Linked DNA regions of Homo sapiens: region 1 is linked to region 2. Evidence: promoter capture Hi-C in human tissues and cell types (Jung and others, 2019). All regions are on one chromosome and are shown on one strand. Each heading gives the region's core, a stretch centred on a gene start or on the middle of the fragment in contact. The rest is flanking DNA. Distances are from core to core; before and after follow the strand shown.

Region 1 (3,664 bases), core at 56-2,555, 40 kb before region 2:
TTGTATATTAGTTGGGATTGCATCCATCAGCTACATACTGAAGTTATTCAGTATATGGCTGACAGAGGATTCTGAATGACGAGGTTCAACAAAGTCCTGAAAACTTTATTTTAAGCTGTTTACTATGCAGTGAGCATTGAGATAAGAAATATGACAACAGCTGTAGTTTAGATGCTGCTACTAAGTCACTTCACTACTGGGCAAGTTACTCAATGGCTTTGGGAAGCAGTTTAATCTATGGTAACACCAGAGTTTTCTGTTTTCCATTCGACATAAAAATTGTTTGCTTCTAAGTTTTCTATAATTATCATACCTCTGAGAATGTATAAAAAGCTTTAAATATACTACAGTGAACCCCCATGTTCCTGCTGGAGTATAAGGATAAATACTAGGAGTAATTTTTCACACAACAGTGCAATTTGGCTTAGAATAGATGAAAAGTTTGCCAATATTTTTTGTCTGTTTCACAAAAGGTTAATTATTCAGGTAGAAATCTGAATTTAGAGGTTCAGAGAGATTATTTTCATAGGCTAGATTATTTTCATAGGCAGACAGAAGGTTCAAATCTAAGACTGCTCTGCTCTCAAGTTTTAATTTCCAGTAGAGATAACAAAACATTGCAAATAGCAGTATAAAACAAATAAATGGAATTAAGAAACTGGAGCCTTAGTCAAATTTTTCTGAGTGAGATAATCATAAACGTCCATAAGTGCTCAAAACACCCAAATTTTAGCAGGTTTTATATAATAAATTTCTTAAATGTGTTCTACATACCTCTATTTTAAGCATTAGTGATAGGATGATTTGTGTGTCCAAGAAGCTTTAAATTCAAATAGGATGAACTGGAGGCATGTGGATTCAATAACCTCTTCGTAAGCTATTAATTGTAAAAACTGATATGGTGAAGTTTGTTCATTTTTCCCTTGTTTCACGCTGTAAGTGGCAAATTATAAGATATCCATTCAGGATTAATTTAGAAAATATGAGAATAGGTACAAAGCATTACAGATGATCAGACATGTTTTTCTGATATTATATTACCAAGTATGAAGGTATTTATTGATCTTTCCAGAATTCTCCTCACCAGGTTTACAAAATAAATGAGAGGGATAGGAAACTATTTTTGAATGTCGGGTGTTCTCTGGCTTACAGGGGAAGATAACAACCCTCATGTGGTTTATGGTAATTGACCATGGTATCTGATGGGAAGAGAGAAGGAGGAGATCTCTGTGATGTGATACTTCATTTTAGTTTAGATTTGCTCCCTGATACCCTTTCTCTGGGGATTGTCTCCTCAATTGTTTCTGAGACAAAAGGGAACGACAGCAGGGACTAAAATACTTTATCAAATAAAGTCTGGATTTTGTGCCATTAAACTGAGTGTTCGTTTCCTTTTTACTAATCAAGTTCTGTCAAGCCACAGAAAACTGTCCATTTACTCTGAAATCCTGAGGTCAGTATCTATGCAATAAAATAGGCTTCCAGTTAATTTGATGTAGAAATATTTTTACCTTGATTTACATAAAGTAGTTTTCTTCATTATATATCCAAATAGGCTTCTTTTCTTTCATAGATTTTGAATTTCTAGCCTTAGTTGAAAAGCTCTTCGGGTCAATGTAATTTCCTAGATTTTTTTCCAAGATTAAAAAGAGATTTATATTTTTCTATAGTTTTTCTATACAGGATTTGTTTTTATACATTCTAATATATAGTTTCCTCAGCTTTCAAGGATGAGTAGATATGAGAAAATATATTTGTGGTTATGTAAAAGGTTGGTATCTACAATATAAATAGAGTTTTTATAAAGCCCAAGAAAAACACAAATAACACAATTGAAAAAATGCTAAATAATATGACCATATACATACTGTGAACTCAGAATAGCAAATCTATATAAGATTTTAAATTCCCAAATATTCAGACAAATATATTAAAGTAGTAATGATGAGTCACTTATCAGATTGAAAAAACAATGTAACTAGCAGTAACTCCTGAATGTTGCTGAAGGAAAAAACCTCTCATAAATTATGGTTAGAAATTCAAAGTGTCACTGACATTTTAGAAATAAATAGGGCAGTTAATCTTGAAAAAAATACTCTGTTCATCAACATAGCAATGGCATTCATGGAAATCTATCCTATGGAATAAAATATACTGGTACACAAATCGTAGAAACAATAATTTTTATTGTAGCAATGTTTGTGGTGGCCAAAGTAGAGAAAAAATTAGTTTCTCAATAGGAAATTGACTAGTAATTAACCTAATCCAGAAGTATTTGCCTGTGATGTTGCTGAGTGAGAAAATGAAGATGTAAAAAAGAATAAATAACATGATCTTAATTATATAAACAATGACTAAAACACTCTCAATATAACTGTATGTATTGTGCGCCTGCATGGAATTATACGAGAGTGAAGAAGAATAAAGAACACTTGTTAGCTCCTTCATGTGGGCAATCTGGAGCACAGAGGCTGATAGCTGTGAAGGGAGAAGGAAGGGGCATCAAGTAAACCAGGGAAAAAGACTAAGATGTAATCCACAAAAAATAATGTATAGCATTTAAAACCTTCCCAAACTAATAACAGTGCTTATCTCTGAAAGTAAGAGTGAGCGTGAGGGCGGGATTAGTCAGAGGAAAATGTTTATAATGTTGGATTTTCTTTTTTCTCATAAATGCTTACAATAGATAATTTAAATAAAGGCAATAGTATTTAAAGAAAAAAAAACAGAGGGCTAAACAAATAAGAAAATAAAGACAAATCTTTAGTTTGCAGAGTGAACCAAGGTAAATAAACTAAAAAAATTCAGTAGTCCTTAAAGTGAAAAATTAAGAAATAATGCTCAGTTATCAAAGGGACTGGAAACAGGGAAGAATCTGTAGTTTAATAATAATAGTATCAATGTTTACTATGCTTACAATGTCCTATAAAATTGCTACACTTTATCTTTATTTTTTTAATGTGGAAATGGAGGCTTAGAGAGGTTAAACAAACTTTCCAAAATTAACATAATTTGTTAGAAAGCCTAGATATACTATGAATCTACATTTTGGTTTAAGTTTAATTTCTCCTCTTTGACTAATGCTTAAGGATGATTCTTGCCAAACTCAACACTCCCCACTTACTCTAATTTCCCAGAGGACCACTTACTTGATTAGTAGTGAAAGATCTCTTGAAACAATATAACTATAATTTTGTGTATTAATTTCTGACCATCTAATCAATTACCTCTCCTTATATCAGAATGAAATAGGCTTGGCTACAGTAATATTTTAGTGACTAGCCTTGGGGGTTGGATCAGTCAGGCTTAGCTCTCAGGAAGAACTTTGTATATAAGAGGGAACTGAGCATTGAGAAAGACAGTTTTAATAGTACTTTAGGAAACACCAAGTATTAAATATTTGAGAGACTAAGTAAAAATTTAACATGTTCTGAAGCAAGGCTGATTTGCAGTATAAATTAAAGTAGGATACCCAAACCTCATTCTTAGTTTACATTTTCCCTTTTATGATGGGAAGGTCAGCAACATCATTATGTTTAGTATGTAGAAGCTCAGATAAAACTTGGAGCATTCTTGGATTAGATGGGTTTCCATGAACTGATATTATGACTCAACAAATTTTAATTACTGCCCCCAAAATTAGAGTGGGCATGATTCTGGAAGA
Region 2 (3,242 bases), core at 93-2,592:
GCTGCATGCAGCCCGTGGGCCTCAGGTTGGACAAGCTTGATTTAAAGCATCCACCTGCCTGTTAGTCACTGAGTAGCCATCTCGGTTATCAGATCGTCAGAACACAGAGGGGTGAGTACACTAGAATAAGGTGTTTTGAAGAGAAAAAAAGAGAGGGACACCACATTCACATAACATGTATTACAATAAATGGGGGTCTGGAGCTGTTATACTTGCTGCATTTTATTAATTATTGTTCTTAATCTCTTACTGTGCCTAATTTATAAATTAAACGTTATAGTTGTGTATGTATTAAAAAACATAGTATATATAGGGTTTGGTACTACCCACAGTTTCAGGTTTCTATCCACTGGTGGTCTTGGAATGTATCCCCCATGGATAAAGGGGGAACCACTGTATCATCTTCATTTTACAAATGAGAATTGTGGAGATCAAAGGGTTAGAAGCATTCCAATATAATGAATGTAACTAATTAGAGAGGGTAGGGATATGAGACCAGCCTGTCACCTTCAAATATCATATTACTAAGGAATCTATACAAATTCTATGAGCTTCTAGAACGAAAAGGATATGTCTCCTTAAATTGTGTCTGATAACTTACTAGATACTGTCTACATGGCTTTTTTGAGGGAAGGGGAATAATGGGAGGTGGCTTTAACTAATGTTAACTGATTTCTACAATCAGGGAATCTCGCTGGCCTTGAAGAGAAATTAGAATGAATTCAAATGACAGGAAACTGTATCTACATCTACCTCACAGTAGATATCTAGGTAGGAAGAATGAGAAAAATACATTTACAAACAGTAAAATATCAAAGGATACATTATGTGAATTTGGAAACTGAAAATATGGCTTAAGATTTTTGAAATTAGGCTGGGCACAGTGGCTCACGCCTGTAATCCCAGCACTTTGGGAGGCTGAGGTGGGCAGATCACCTGAGGTTGGGGTTTGAGACCAACCTGACCAACGTGGAGAAACCCCATCGCTACTAAAAATACAAAATTAGTCGGGGTGGTGGCACATGCCTGTGATCCCACCTACTGGGGAGGCTGAGGCAGGAGAATTGCTTGAACCTGGGAGGCGGAGGTTGCGGTGAGCCGAGATGGCGCCATTGCACTCCAGCCTGGGCAAAAGAGTGAAACTCTGCCTCAAAAAAAAAAAAAAAAAAAAAAAAAAAGATTCTTGAAATTCGATTCAATTTGCTAATATGCTGTTACAGATATATAAACACTTTTTAAATACTTGGATGGATAAATATTTATATTTTTATCAATACTTTTTTCACATTATTAATTGGATCAGTCTGTAATTTTATGTAAATTGATAGCAAAATGATTATAGCTGACAAAATCAGGAAGTGTGTTGTTAACTTCCTGACTTCTTATATTTCAGAGAACGAAGAGTTGAACCATTTAACATGAATTGGGTAAATAAGAGTGTCCCACAGGAGTTCATTCTGTTAGTTTTCTCAGATCAACCATGGCTAGAGATTCCACCCTTTGTGATGTTTCTGTTTTCCTATATCTTGACAATCTTTGGCAATCTGACAATAATTCTTGTGTCACATGTGGATTTCAAACTCCACACCCCTATGTACTTTTTTCTTAGCAATCTCTCACTCCTGGACCTTTGCTATACCACAAGTACAGTTCCACAAATGCTGGTAAACATATGCAACACCAGGAAAGTAATCAGTTATGGTGGCTGTGTGGCCCAGCTTTTCATTTTCCTGGCCTTGGGTTCCACAGAATGTCTTCTCCTGGCCGTCATGTGCTTTGATAGGTTTGTAGCTATTTGTCGGCCTCTCCATTACTCAATTATCATGCACCAGAGGCTCTGCTTCCAGTTGGCAGCTGCATCCTGGATTAGTGGCTTTAGCAATTCAGTATTACAGTCCACCTGGACACTTAAGATGCCACTGTGTGGTCACAAAGAAGTGGATCACTTCTTCTGTGAAGTCCCTGCTCTGCTCAAGTTGTCCTGTGTTGACACAACAGCAAATGAGGCTGAACTATTCTTCATCAGTGTGCTATTCCTTCTAATACCCGTGACACTCATCCTTATATCGTATGCTTTTATTGTCCAAGCAGTGTTGAGAATCCAGTCTGCTGAAGGTCAACGAAAGGCATTTGGGACATGTGGCTCCCATCTAATTGTGGTGTCACTTTTTTATGGTACAGCTATCTCCATGTACCTGCAACCACCTTCACCCAGCTCCAAAGACCGGGGAAAGATGGTTTCTCTCTTCTGTGGAATCATTGCACCCATGCTGAATCCCCTTATATATACACTTAGGAACAAAGAGGTAAAGGAAGCCTTTAAAAGGTTGGTTGCAAAGAGTCTTCTTAATCAAGAAATAAGAAATATGCAAATGATAAGCTTTGCTAAAGACACAGTGCTTACTTACCTTACTAACTTCTCCGCAAGTTGTCCTATTTTTGTCATTACTATAGAAAACTATTGTAATCTCCCTCAAAGAAAATTTCCTTGACAAAAAGCTATATTTGTTTCTGTTGCCTAAACATTTTCATTGAACAAGCCCCCAGAATTGGCCTTCCAATGCACCAAAAACTGTAATCACAACATTTTCAAGGGTTGTCACACTTTACATCAATGTTTGTACAATTCAGTGTAAACTAGACCTTTCTGATCCAGAAATCATCTCTTCAGTAATACACACACGCACACACACATACATACATACACACACACACATAGAAACAAAGATGTAAAGGGAGCTTTTGAGAGGTTGCTTGCAAGGGTGTTAATAAAAAAAAAAGGAATTCTCAAATTATAGGCCTTTTAAAGACTTCAATTTTACATAGCTTATAATTTAATTCTCTCCAAATTGCTTTATTATTACTATTCTTAGAAAAACTATTATAGTGATCTTCAAATAAAATGTCGACAGAGAACTATATCTGTTTTCTACTGCCTAAATATATTCATTGCACAAGTCTTAAGAACTGATCTTTTATGAACTCTCAAAATAGCATAGCCTTGAAATCTTTAAGGTCTCAAACATCTTAGCACTAGTCTGTATACATCGGGAAGAGACTTAGACTTCTCTGAAACCAGAATAAAAGCCAGAAACAAAACATTTTGATACATATACACATGTCCTCATCCTTACACACACACACACACACACACACACACACACAAACTCCATGGCACAAATTATTTTTCAGACAATTGTAGATCTAACAGAAGTATCCAAAACCTTGTCTTAATTTTCTCT

The links. Contacts are between HindIII fragments. The study calls those that stand out against the background at their distance.
Region 1: a contact is called between a fragment that was not itself captured here and the fragment with the promoter of OR2B2 in region 2, in 1 of the 25 tissues and cell types used here (pancreas).

The regions. Positions count from the first base shown.
Region 1 is chr6:27,949,567-27,953,230 of GRCh38, reverse strand. No RefSeq gene overlaps it. Among named protein-coding and RNA genes, the nearest start is that of OR2B6, 5.8 kb to the left of the region's middle. The HindIII fragment of the contact is 4,792 bases long and covers 1-3,664 here.
Region 2 is chr6:27,910,496-27,913,737 of GRCh38, reverse strand. It overlaps OR2B2 (olfactory receptor family 2 subfamily B member 2), which reads left to right and starts at 1,342. Exons shown (of 1, transcript NM_033057.2): 1 at 1,342-2,553. The coding sequence starts at 1,419. The coding sequence ends at 2,492. The HindIII fragment of the contact is 12,366 bases long and covers 1-3,242 here.